Regions from separate parts of the Homo sapiens genome. Here region 2 is linked to region 1. The links are contacts of gene promoters, found by promoter capture Hi-C in blood cells and fetal thymus (Javierre and others, 2016). All regions are on one chromosome and are shown on one strand. The core of a region is centred on a gene start or on the middle of the fragment in contact, and the rest is flanking DNA. Distances in the headings are between cores, read along the strand shown.

Region 1 (6,904 bases), core at 2,240-4,739:
CAGAAAAATTACCAGATAGTATGTAGTACATATTGCTATGTAGTATGCTACATACATAATACCCAATAGTTTTTTTAATACTAGACGTGCTCCTCAAATGATATTCCATCTTCCCTTAATGTTGAGCACATAGCAGCACCACACAGGGATGAGTATATCACACTGACTATAATTCACATAATAATTTCATTACAATCTTGTGTTCAGACTCTTAGTTAACAGTCTAAGAGTCTAGTTAATCATGTCTGCCAATCAGATAAAAATTTCCGGTTGAAACTAAGTAACAGTCCTTGTTTGACTGGATTTGCCAGCAAATACATGTAGTCACAGGCCCCAAAACATGCTTTCTGATAATCTGGAGGAAAATAAGGACTAGAAATGTAACTGGCAATGCTGGGAGCAATGGTAGGCACTTCTAGTCCCAGCTACCTGGGAGGCTGAGGCAGGAGATTCTCTTGAGCCCAGGAGTTGGAGGCCAGCCAGGGCAACAGAGTTAGGTCTGTCTCTTAAATAGAAAATTTACTAAAGTTACCCTCTCTATAGAACGCTTTTATCCACAAAGGTGTTCTGGCTCATGCATCGATGAGATTAGCGAGGAATTTAAAATGTTATTACTCATAAAACTAACACAGTAACTCTCAGACTTGTAAGCAACAATTAACATAGACTGAGATAAGCTTTCATTGTGTTGTCCTATTCATAAGGTGACAAAATCACGATTTACCGAAATGAAAGTGTGTCATAACTCAGACACAATTTTTGTATGTCCTTCACTGTAAGAATACAATTCTGTACTAACTTATGTAACATTTTACCAATGATCAATTCTTGTCATTTACAAATATGACATAAATAGCATCCAAAACACAAGTTACCTAACTAACAAACTGAAGTAGTGTTTAGGGGTGGCACTTGGAGGCAGACAGGGATATAATATAATCTTCAAAGACATTTTATCACTAAAGAGGGTGGGGTGGGGGTAAGAAGAAGAGAGGGGGCTGGAATGAGCCAGAACTTCTGCATTTTCAGCTATGAACAAGATACTCATCCCAGGGATATTTACTGTAGAGCATAAAGAAATCGCTAAGAAGCAAAATCCTGCATATAAGTAGACATATCAGGGATAAGGGGAGGTGAAATTTTCTTATGTACCTAAAGAAATATATACATCACCCTGAGAATTTACAGATTATTTATTGCTTGGAAGAGAGTATTTTCTTCTACCAATATCCTACCATTCTCCCTCCACTATTAGTTGACCTTTTACTATGCACTAAGCATAGTAATAAGCCCTTTACATACATTATCCATTATCTTTTTTTACTCCTATAAAAGCCTCTGAGGGAAGTCCTATTATCATCACCATTTTACAGATGAGGGAATATTCTACCAATAATATAGATCAGACGCCTAAATTTAAAAATTATATCTACGACATGGTAGAGTTAGTTTTAAGTTATCTCTAAGCACTCAAATAGAAAAGGACACAAAAAAATTAGCCTCTACCCCAAGTCCAAAGTGGATATATTCCATTTTTACAACTTTCAAAACTTTAACCTTAGCATGCAACAATATTCATATACTAGTCAAGCTAAAGAAAAACTACTAGTTAATAATGCTTTATCTTATTTAGTTACTGTAGTTTATAATTTAAAAAGCAGGTTGAAGGTTTAGAGCATCCCCTTTGGGTTCAGACAGTATGGAATTGAACCTACACAATACCACCAATAACTGCTATGTGACCTTGGTCAGACTACTCTCTCAGATTTCATTTCCTCATCTGTAAAATGGGGATGATCTTAATAGCACTTTTCTCAAAGGTCTGTTGTGGAGATTAAAAAAAAAATGTATGAAAAGGACTTATTACTGTGCTCAGTGTATAGCAAAAGGTCACCTAATGGAGAACAGCCACACATAAGCTAAGCAGAGCAAACACAATCACTTAAAAAGGCTATATTCTGAAAATCCACTTACAGAAAAGGAGAGAATTACTATTTGACTACATGCTAAAGACAAAATTCAAGTTCAATTTATTCCTAATTTTTTAGGGGATCAATGCATTTGGGGTGAGCCAGAAAAGATGCTGCAGTGCATCTGTGACACACACCTAAAAATGGCTCCAGTCAAAGCAGCATCTTAATTACCAATATGGGAGGTGAAATCTAGTTTTGAAAAATGGTGGGGTTAGGCTTGGTAGGTGCTTAGTATCACCCTATTATTTTTATTTGCAGGAGTAAGCTATTAAGTACTCAACAATCAAAAAATCCTCCGATTCTTCTGGTGCATTCCAAATGAAAATCTTACAGCAGAGCCGCCTACTGTACAATTCTAAGTACTCTAACGAGGTATGAATCTATGAACCCAGGCTGAAAACCAGCCAATGCGGAAATCCAGGTAGCTTTATAAGCCAGCAAACATCAGGCATGTCAGACCCTCAAAAGATCCCAAATAATGTCAAAACACACATACATCCCTTTAAATTAAAGGTACTCCTCTCATGCAAAGGAAGGAAGACTCTATCAATGTCTCTATAGTGGCCCCATGCCCTTTTCTTCAGTCCTAAAACGGGGCCTTTACCCTGACACCACCAATATCAACGCTATCTCAAAGACAGGGAGCTACCGAGATTCACCACGCAAGTTAGAGGATGGAGCGGCCTAGAGTGTGAAAAGACTACCCAAATCCTCCTCCGGAGTTGGGCAGCACTTCCCTAGCGGAAGTAGGGTTGGTCTTGATTCCCCGAAGAGCCTCTCATCTAACCAGGTCTTTAAACCAGACCCTCCCATACATTGCTCATTGCAAGTCCCACCCTCACTACACAGGAAGAGGTAGACAGTGAAAGCCCCGGCTGAGTCCTTCAGTTGTTTGGGGAAACGCATACCCGACACTAAAAAAAAAAAAAAAAAAAAAAGACTTCACGTCCGCCAGTCCAGGAAGACGGAAACCCCCTTCGCTTACCCGGCAACATGCGTAATCCCCTCGCAGGGCCAGGACTGGGGTCTAGGTGGGAGCAAGACAGACCGGTCCAGAACTCCCGCTGCAGACCACATGGGGCGGGTCTGACTCCGGTTTCCCGCTCCCCAAGCTGGAGGCCGACTTCCCCAGACACAGAGATGATGGTAACCAAACAGAAGGGAAATGCCCGGACCCAAGGCCCTCTCCACGCGGCCCCCTAGCCTCCGGGCGCCAGGGTCTGGGTGCGCTCCCACGCCCCAGGCCGCACTCTGGCCGTTCCCGATGGGGCCCTCTTTGATCGCGGCCCCCACACCCTCGCTTTCCTTACCGGTCAGGGTGAGTGTCAAGTTTGCGCACTTCGAGGGTCTCCGCCGATCTCTGATCGAAAGAAGGGGGAGGGAAAGCTGGGGTTAAAGGGGTGGCCGGAAGGGCCACCAGACTGGAAAAGCCGAAGCTGCGGATGGACAAACCGCCAAAGCACTTTCGCAGCTTTCCGAGGGGGAGCGAGCGAGCGAGAAAAAGAAGCAAGATGGCGGCTAGCCAGCCCCTACGTACTACGTCATGACGCTAAGTACGTAGGTCAAATCTCCGCAAGACCACACTCCTGCGCAGAGACGGCCGGATCACGTGAAGCCTCCGTGGCGGCCCAACCCCGACAGAGGGTGCTGGCGCTTCCTGCTGGACGGAGGGAGTTTCTGCAATCAGAATTATCTTTTCAGGACAAAGCTTGGACCTGAGACCTTTCTAAGAAGTCTTGAATTGACCACGTTTACAAGTTGATAATAAGCCTCAGTGAAATGAGCACTCTTATGTCTGGTGGGTGGATGTGTAAATGGTTGAACCAGCAGTTCGCCAGTATGTCTCAGTGAATTTGGGGCAAGCTGAGAAGTCTTGGTGTATTGAAAAGTTATCACAGAGAGTGAAAGTAAAACTAGTGTGAGGAACAGAGTAGCATGGGCTGCTGAGAGCACTTTTTAAGTTTCTAATTATGGATGTGAGATAAGCCATTCAGTTTATTTATATGATCTCTCCATCACAGTGTTCAGCTCCGTTGAATAGTAAGATTCACCCATGCTGGCTTTTACTAGGCAAGTGTAACATAGGCAGATGAGTGTATCTGGAAGTGGGAGACTACAATGATGATAATATTATGTCAGAACAGATGGCGAATGTTTAGTAAATGGTATCTTTTGTCCTCTTTGTGAACTACCTATGACATATTTAAAATTCAAGGATTTCTTACCACTTCTGGTCTGAACGATCTTCCCCGCCAGTAGCTGGTGTATGTCCATGGAATTGTCACTGTAGCAATGTTAGAATAAATGAAATAATAAAGAGAGGTAAATTATGAACACCTCCCTCCCCACTAATATTAATTTGAAGTAGAAAAGTCTGGACTTGCTTGGTGGCTCATGCCTGTAATACTAATACTTTGGTAGGTCAAGGCAAAAGGATTGCTTGAGACCAGGAGTTCAAGACCAATCTGGGCAACATAGTGAGACCCTACCTCTGCAAAAAAATTAAAAAGAAAAAAAGCTAGCTAGGCATAGTGGCACATGCTTATAGTCCTAGCTACCTGGGAGGCTGGAGGCAAAAGGATCACTTGAGCACAGGAGGTTGAGGCTGCAGCGAGACTCTTTCTCGAAAAAATAGAAAAGAAGAAAAGAAAAAGTTTTTTTATTGATATAGGGTCATTGCCAGGGGAAAGCCTACTGATCATCCACAAGAGGACAAGGAAGCATTACTTTAGTGAATTTCTACAACCTTCTAGGATCTGGTCTATAGTGTCCTGGTCACAGAAACATCTTTCTTTGTTTTTTTGGAGGCAGGGTCTCACTTTGCTGCCCAGGCTGGAGTGTAGTGGCATAATCACAGGTCACTGAAGCCTCAACCTCCCAGGCTCAAGCAATCCACCTGTCTCAGCCTCCCAGGTAGGTGGGACTACAGGTGCTTGCCACAAAACCTGGCTTTTTTTTTTTTTTTTTTTTTTTTTTGCCAGTAGAGACGAGGTCTTGCTATGTTGACTGGGCTGGTTTCGAACTCCTGAGCTCAAGCAAGCCTCCCGCATTGGCCTCCCAAAGTGCCGGAATTACCGGCATGAGCCACCACGCCCAGCCAAATCATCTGTCTTGAGCAATGGAGAACAACTTCAGCAATCAGATGAAATTACATTAACCAAGGTCATAAGACTGACACGTATGGCCGGGCGCGGTGGCTCACGCCTGTAATCCCAGCACTTTGGGAGGCCGAGGCGGGCGGATCACAAGGTCAGGAGATCGAGACCATCCTGGCTAACACGGTGAAACCCAGTCTCTACTAAAAAATACAAAAAAAAATTAGCCGGGCGTGGTGGCGGGCGCCTGTAGTCCCAGCTACTCAGGAGGCTGAAGCAGGAGAATGGCGTGAACCCAGGAGGCGGAGCTTGCAGTGAGCACAGATCCTGCCACTGCACTCCAGCCTGGGCAACAGAGCGAGAGAGCGAGACTCTGTCTCAAAAAAAAAAAAAAAAAAAAAAAGACATGTATTAAATTATTAATTTCTAAGAGCTTTAATTTATACACCTGAACACTCAACAACTGCAAAGCCAATACTTTTTTTTTCTTTTTTTCTTTTAATTTTTGCCAGAAACAGAAAGCCTCCGGTATGCCAGCATGGACCCAAGGTGCTATCTTTTCTTGAGTACATTTTCTCATTTCCCTCCCCTCCCCTCCCCTCCCTCCCTCCTTCTCCCCTCCCCTCCCTCCCTCCCTCCCTTCCCCTCCCCTCCCTCCCTCCCTTCCTTCCTTCCTTGCCTGCCTGCCTTTTCTTCCTTCCTTCCTTCCTTCTTTCTTTTTTTTTTTCCCCATGGAGTCTCACTCTGTTGTCCAGGTGGCGTAATCTCAGCTTACTGCAACCTTCACCTCCCAGGTTCGAGCGGTTCTCCTGCCTCAGCCTCCCGAGTAGTTGGGATTACACAAAGGCGCCACCACGCCCAGCTAATTTTTGTATTTTTGGTTGAGATGGGGTTTCGCCATGTTGGCCAGGCTGGTCTCAAACTCCTGACCGCATGTGATTCGCCTGCCTCAGCCTCCCAACGTGCTGGGATTACAGGTGTGAGCCACTGTGCCTGGCCCCGCTGAGTGCATTTTCTGTGTAGCCAAACCTACTCAGGAAACCAAGGCATTATCAGAAGGTTGCTTGATGAGCACATATTCTGAACAAGTGGAGTTATATGTATAGACTTTTCTTGAGTCATCTATCTTCACAACAGGAGAATTTTGTCCCGAAAATAGAAGTTCTCAATTTCCAATGGCTGCAGTTGCCCGCATTGATCTCCAATATAGTGGTGACATCCTGCTGAGCTGCTGATTTGTGCTCCTTGTCTCCTTAGCAGCACTTGGATGGCCACTGACCCTAAAGTGCCCCCTGTACGTTACTTTCTCTGTTTCCATGGCTACCCAAACCTCTTTGCAATATTATTTCAATAAAAATCAAGTTACAGTTAAATCAAACCAGTTTGTGTTTTAAAGGTGACTTTGCTTATTTCTGCTCCTAGCTATGTATGTGATCTTAAAGTCTAACTTTTAGAGAGCAGTCTTACTGCCTTTGTTTCCAATTTATTGGGGAAAATGTGACTGAAGTCTCCTTGACTTGGATTGCACTTCTCCTGACACTCCACCATTGTAGACAAATTTGTTATAACAAAAATGTCTTCATGACAGATTGAATGAAAACTTTTCATTTAATTTACAACACTTCTATTTAAACAATAATTTTAGAATAACATTATCAAATTTCCAATTGGGTGGTGTGGAATCAGGCAAACTAGTTTCTTACTGAAAACAAATTCACTCTCCAAACAATATGACGTATTTTCTTTGTGATTGTCCAGCCTTATTTGCTAATGATTTAATGAGTTTCTACCCTTCTCATTGTGATTGATTCCATAATCCTGTAGGCACTGAAATTT
Region 2 (6,904 bases), core at 1,882-4,381, 7.5 Mb before region 1:
CCTGCACAGGCTACTGCCAGGCTCCAGGTGGTTTAGAACACCATATAATCACAGAAGCAAATAACACACCTCTACAGAATATTTTGAACAGTAATCCGAAACACATTTTCTACGCTTTTTTTTTCTTTTGACAAAAAGAGGAACTAAATAATTTAGTATATACATTAGAATATTTCCCCTTCCCTCATACTGTTTTCCATTTATTCATTCAACTGACGAATATTTATTGTGCACCTTCTACATACAGGCACTGTCAGGTGCAGAGAGAAAAATACACAGATACACAGATTACTGTAACAATTACAACAAACTGTAGGGCCTCATTGTAACTGTGTTCCCCATCCCAATCCACAAAACCACCTGGCACTTAGTCCCAGAAGGACTAAGAGTCAGATTCAGAAGACAGTCTCCTTCTGTTGTTGTTGTTGTTTGTTTGTTTGTTTTTTGAGACGGAGTCTCACTGTCAGCAGTCTGGAGTGCAGTGGTGCAATCTCAGCTCACTGCAACCTCTGCCTCCTGGGTTCAAGCGATTCTCCTGCCTCAGCCTCCTGAGTAGCTGGGACTACAGGCGTGCACCACCATGCACAGCTAATTTTTGTATTTTTAGTAGAGACGGGGTTTCACCATGTTGGCCAGGATGGTCTCAATCTCTTGACCTCGTGATCCGCCTGCCTCGGCCTCCCAAAGTGCTGGGATTACAGGCATAAGCCACCGCGCCCGACCAACTGTCTTTTTATGTATTCTTACAGAATACAAAGAACGCCCTCCTGCTTCTGTTATGAGATTGTGGCAATCACCAAAAGACAACCTCTGTGGTTAGCTATTTTAAAAAGTTATCAATTCAACAGCTGAAGTATCTGGCTTTAGGGTTTTACACTAATGAAATGATTTTAGGGTTTTACACCAATGAAATGATAGACACACAAAGTGTGGGAAGCTGAAGTCTGCCCTAAAACTGAAGGAACAGAAAGTTTCATTTAGGAATTTAAAATTCAGAAGAGATAAGAAGCAGAAACTTTAAGGCTGTGTGAAAGGGCTGGAATCTACAAATGGAAATCAAGGGAATGAACTAAAAGTCAAGGAATTATCAATTTAACATAAAATACTTCCATGATATAAAAGATTATAAAAATAAAGATGATAGAAGCAGTGATGTGTTTTTTCTCTAATCTTAAGAACCAAAAAGAAAAGCAGTGTATGTGTTTTCTAGTTTCCATTCATTCACCAAAACATAGCTACTGTCCTACCAGTTCTAGAGAAACGAATAGAGCATACCAATGTCACATTTTCACCACACAGAAAAGAAACGCTGTGAACTCCAAGATGTCTTGATCATCTTTTACCTGTATCCATATTTATCACTGCACTTTATCATGAGTGAGGCTGAGAGTCTGAATTATACTTGTGTGTGCCTTTGTATTCTCCTTTGATAAGTAATTTCAAATGGGAAAGGGACTCCTGCTGACTGATTCCATTGTACGGTTCGAGAGGCCAAAGTCCAACATCTTTGCAAACTTTAGAAAAGTTATTAATAGAATACATTGATTTTAAATCTCCCTGAGATTGGCTATGAGTCTGGGCAAATAATTTAGCATCTTTACCATTTGTACCTCAGTTTCTCAGACAGTCGTGATAACGAATCATATTTGAGGAAGTGCTCTAAGCTTAGCTCAAAGATCCTGCATAAACTCAAGGAATGTTTGTAATACATAAGAACACTGAGATCTCTAACCAGATTTTTAGAAATCAACGCCAGTGAAATTTTTGCAAGAATTTACAACGCAAAAAACATAGGCGTGGCTAATAAATGGCAATAGTAATTTGTACCAGATTATAGATTTATAAAGTCCTACAGTTTAAAGGCTAAAGGCTAAAAAAAACCCCACATTCCTACTTCCCTTCCAAGTGAGAAATCAAACCTCCAGAGGGAAGCTGGCTGGGTGGGGAAGATGCTGATATCTGGCACTAGACCCAAGTCGCAATAGCAAGCAACTCTCATTTTCCCAAATTAGAAACTCCTTATCCATCCCAATGATGGTATGGTCTTTAAAAGGACTAATAATTCCATTAAGACTAACCAAGCCCTGTTACCCCTACTTTCCCTCCAATCCATCCTTCTACCCCTTCTCTTCTTATCCGGAGACTGGCAGGTTAACAGAAGTCAGATTAGAATGAATCTCTTATCAGAACCCACAATCAAGGACGCAGCTCGACAACTATTCACATTCATCATTAAGGGAAACGTATCGGTCCGCTCTTAATCGCGGGGCCGTCACACCCGGAAATGAAATCTCAAGCGCAGCCCACTGAGGGCTAACACAGCATTCGTTAAGTTGTGCCCTTCTGCGAGCGCCCGGCGCAGGACCCCAGGAGACCGCGGGCCCCGGGCACGGTTGCCCCGCCTTCCGCCTCCGGCCTGCAGGTCACTCGCGCTTCCCGGCCACGAGGCGGGCCCAGCAAAGACCCCGCGAGGGCGCGCTCCCTGGGCTGCCTCAACGGGCGCTCCGGGGAACACAAGAGAGGCACCGGGGCCAATCGCCTCTGGGGACCGCGCAAGGGGACGAGAGACGGTCACTAGAAGGACCTCTGGCAGCCTGAGGCGGCCCCAGGTGGGCCCGCGCCTCAGGTGGGCCAGGGACGTGGCGGCCGAGGCCGCGTCCCTTCAGCCGCGACCGCACACAGGGACACGCGGCCCGAGCGGGTCTCCCAGGAAGCCTCGGGCCCTCGCCCGGGACCCGCCCGCAGCCACTCGGGGACGGCTCAGGGCACCCGGTGCCCGGCCCCTCAGGGAGGCGCCCCGCCCCCAGGCGGCCCCAGCCCGGCGCGCGCTACGTACCGTGCCCCGCCCGCGTGCCGGTCCGCATTTTCCCGCCCGCCGCGCCGGGGGCGGGGGTCGCGCGCCCTCCCCCGCCCCCGCGCCACTCACCTGTCGGGCCCTAGGCTCGCTCCATGGCCGCCCGCGCGGTGCGGTGCGGCGCGGCCCCGGCCGCCCCCGCCGCCTCCGGGGAGGGGCAGCCCCACGCCGCGCTCACCGCCCCCAGCCGCCGCCGCCGCCACAGCGGCTCCGGCCCACCCCCGGCCCGGCCATTCCCAGGCCACCTCTCGCCGCGCAGAGCGGCAGTCCCACACCCACCCCCCCGCCTCCGAGGCCCCCGGCTGTTGGTACCGTCCTAGCGTAGCGCCTGCCCGACGGCCAATCCCAGCGCTCGCTCGGCGCGGCCCCGCCCCCGCCCAGTAGGCGGCCCCTACCGGACCCGCTCCGGACTGCCCCCCTTAACCTCTTCCATACCGGGCCCGTCCGCTTAACTCCCTCGGCGCCGGCGCCGGTCTCCTGCCGGCCGCGCCGCCCTGCCCGCTTACATAAACTGGCCTCTCACTTCTCACTTCCTTCGCTCTTTTTTCTTTTTCTGTATTTGTCCTCCATCCCCCACCCCGTCTTCTCTTTTTCTTTCCTGCTTTTCTTAGGTAGGTAGGCAGCCAAGCAGCAGGACTGGAGAGTTGCGGTCCCCTAGGTCGAGTTCTGTTTGTGAGAAGCATTTTCCCTCCTCCTGTTGCCTTTTTAATTTGCCTTGACTTCTGCTCGGAACTTCTGCCTATCTAAATGTATCCCCCGCTTCTTTTGCCCAGAAAAAGGCTAGCCTTTCCACACTGAGTGCAAATGGCTCTTCATTCGGACCAGAGCGGAGCGTCCTGCTACATACTTTCAGGAGCATCTCACAAAATTATGATTCATTTACTGTAATATTAGTTGTTTTACATCTGTTTTTTGCTAAGGACCGTAAGCCCCATGAGGGCAGGTCAGTCGCTCCTGGGTCGCCAATGCCCGACCGTAGTGCACCCAGTGGGCGCGGATAAATCGTGTGAATGAAAGATTCTGCCTTCCCTTTGTTTGCTTTCAGCTGACTTATACAGAGCCGCCACTGTGTCCATCCATTTATTCACCATATACTAAAGCGCAAACTTAGTGTGCCTGACCCTGAAATATAATGCAGGTTACTCCATGGAATAAGATGCGTGATGGGGAAAGACTGAGCTGACACTTTTTCTTCAGGCCACATAGTTCATTTAATCAGTAAGGCGTACTGAACAGAATTCTTTCTTACTGGCTGTATGATACTGGATGTGCCAGTTAACTTTGCTGAGCATCAGTTTCCTTAACTGGAAAATGGGAGTTAATAACTTCACAGGGTTGTTGTAAGGATTAAGTTAGGAAATGTATGGGGAAAGTACTCTAAGATTATTGTGTATGATTAGGTGTTATTCGTCTGTATATTTGCTGAGCATTTACTATCAGGAGATCCTAGAGAAATAATTGGGCTTGACACTTGCTCCGGACAATGTAGTTAGGGAGGCAGCATTAATCACTGCAGGAGACGTACAGTCAAATGCAGAAGGCATTGTATTAGCTTTTTGCTGCGTGTAGTTGAAAAGGTTTGGAGGTTTGGAGGTCGTTTTCTGGCCGGAGAATACATAATTCTTGGGAAAATGAGCTGGAAGATAATGAGAATCTACCTTATTTCTCTGCACAGGAAGATCAGTCTGCCTGCAGTTAGCTAATCTCCCTGAACCTTGCTCACTACATCAGGAGACCATAAAGCAAAAGGGTAAATCAACAGTTCCTTTAAGACACTTTATCCAAAAGGATTCTCCTTTCTTGCCTGTAACTCTGACAAGGACAGTGAGGGTGAACGCTCCAACTGTCACTGTTCAGGAAAAGGCCAGCTTATCCTGCAGCCTCAGCTTCCTGGGCGGATGATCCCTTCTGTCTTTAAGGATTTTCAGGTGAGGGCAGGGGGCAGTCATTGCCTCTCCAAGCAACCCACTTCAGTGCTTAATTTCGCATCCATCTATCCATCCCACATACTGCAGGACAGACACACTTCCTCCTTTTCTGTCCTCAGAGAAGGAGAGCTATGGGTTCAGGGCCTCTCTGTGAAAGGCTTTCAGACGACAAAATTGTTCTGCCCCCCAGTTTTCCCTTCTCCATGTTGCATTACCCAGGCCCTTGTTGAGTGTATGCATAGCACCAGCACCGTGCCTGACACTCCATGATGTCAGTTTCTGCCCCCTCCGCCTGTACGGGATTATTTTCCAACCAATCAACAGTCAATATATTCTAAGTATTGTGAGGGATGCAATCATTTAAGAAGGGCGTTTACATGACTAGCACACAGGAAGCAGCTGCAAGGAATAGGGACACTTAAATTATGCAGCACAGACTCTGTGATCACTGAAAGAATCACAGTCCAGGAAAACAGTGTGGGCTGGTATTGAGGTGAGCAAAATACAGGTAGGAGAAGAGAGGAACAATATGAACCAAAGTTAGGCAGTGCTCTGTGAACTTACAGCCGCCATCTTCAGCAGATCCTGCGTGACAGGAGAATTGTTCATTTGTTTGTTTATTCATTCATTCACTGATGCATACATTCATTCATTTAATGAATGTCTACCAAGTGCCAGGCACTGAGCTACCAGACCATGCAGAGATGAAGAAAGCCTGGTTCCCATTCTTGAGAAGCTGGCAGGAACCCCAATTAAGGAGGTCTGAGCACTTTGTCAAGACTCTTGTGATGCTCCTTTTACCACTCATACGATGTATGGTTCTACATGTCGTTGTCTAATCTCCTCTTTGCCCTTCTTCCTTGTTCCCAAACTGCAAGGATTTTTAAAGACATACACTATTTCATCTTTATTCCCACTTGTAGAGTGCCTCATACGAAGTACCTTCTCCACATTGATGTGTTGAAGCTCACTGAGTTAAAACCAGAGCAGGAATTTGGCTGTCCCCCTCCAGCCAAGGGTGGTAGGCATCCTTAGCAGAAGGATGGATATTAGCCCCAATGTGGAACCCCAATCTTGGAATTAGCCCCAGTGTGGAACCCACCAGAGGCTTGTCCGTGGCCTGCGGAATTCAATAGGGACACCTGTGCTTGGCATTTACTGCCATAGTCACCTTTTCAGGACCATTTTCTGCTAATTCCTTATCCTCCAACCTAAGGGGCTCACTTGCTGTCCTTTCCCTGCCCTCATGGTTGTGATCACATTGATTCTTCCTCCAGGAAATCCACCTCACTCCCACCTGTAAAAATGTTATACAGCTCTCAGTGCTGCTTGTTCATGAAGCCTTTCATAGCCTTCCCAACAACTGCACATGCTTTCCTTGGCTTCTGAGACCCAGCACTTTATTTGTAACTGTCTTGCGGTGGGGTGTATTGAAGTCTTTGGGGATCTGTCTGACCCCGTTCCCCGGGTTGTATTGACATCTGCGTCTTCTGTAGCACTAACACTGCACATGGCCCATGGTAGCCATGCAATGCTTGAAAGGAAGGTTTGAGAACATGTACTACAGAGCAGGGAATTGAGCCCCAGAGACTTATTTCTTGGTTCCTTCATCATTGTAAGCATTTTCCTTAAACTGTTTCAGAATTTCCAAGTCTCTGCCAATTTGTCAAGCCCTAGGACTCCAATAACAGTCCAGCAATCCCAAGTTAGAAGGAGGATATTGTCTCAAGGTGCTTTTGCATACACGAAGGCAAAATATATATGCATACACGCGCGCGCGCACACACACACACAGAGTTTCTTTTAACCTAGGCAACACAGCCACCATGATGGATCCCTCTGAAACTAATTAAATTAATTCTACATCAAGCAAGTCGAGAGGAGCCCTAGGAAAGCTCACGCTGTTCCAAGGTGCCAGGAGCCTGGGGAGAGGGTGACGGGAAAGGCTAGCGAGTAAAGGAGCACACATATCTCTCTGTTTCCTTCCAGGAGCATGTGCCCTGCCTCAGCTGCTTCCCAGGCAGGTTTGTTCTCTGCATTGGGCTGTCTGTGGACAGCTGCTTCTGCATTTCTTTCCTAACAGGGAAAACTCCTTTCTTTCATTTTGCCACCAGATCTGCAG

What was found. The method cuts DNA at HindIII sites, captures the fragments that hold promoters and counts their contacts. A CHiCAGO score of 5 or more calls a contact.
Region 2: a contact is called between the fragment with the promoter of FAM20B here and the fragment with the promoter of PRRC2C in region 1, in 1 of 17 cell types (total CD4 T cells). The highest score is 8.1, in total CD4 T cells.

What each region holds. Positions count from the first base shown.
Region 1 is chr1:171,482,115-171,489,018 of GRCh38, reverse strand. PRRC2C (proline rich coiled-coil 2C) reads right to left here and starts at 3,489. Exons shown (of 35, transcript NM_001387844.1): 1 at 3,284-3,489. RefSeq lists enhancers at 2,936-3,684, 3,591-3,900. The HindIII fragment of the contact is 3,004 bases long and covers 680-3,683 here.
Region 2 is chr1:179,022,121-179,029,024 of GRCh38, reverse strand. It overlaps FAM20B (FAM20B glycosaminoglycan xylosylkinase), which reads right to left and starts at 3,131. Exons shown (of 8, transcript NM_014864.4): 1 at 2,927-3,131. RefSeq lists an enhancer at 1-295 and silencers at 2,345-3,084, 3,125-3,314. The HindIII fragment of the contact is 5,476 bases long and covers 1,667-6,904 here.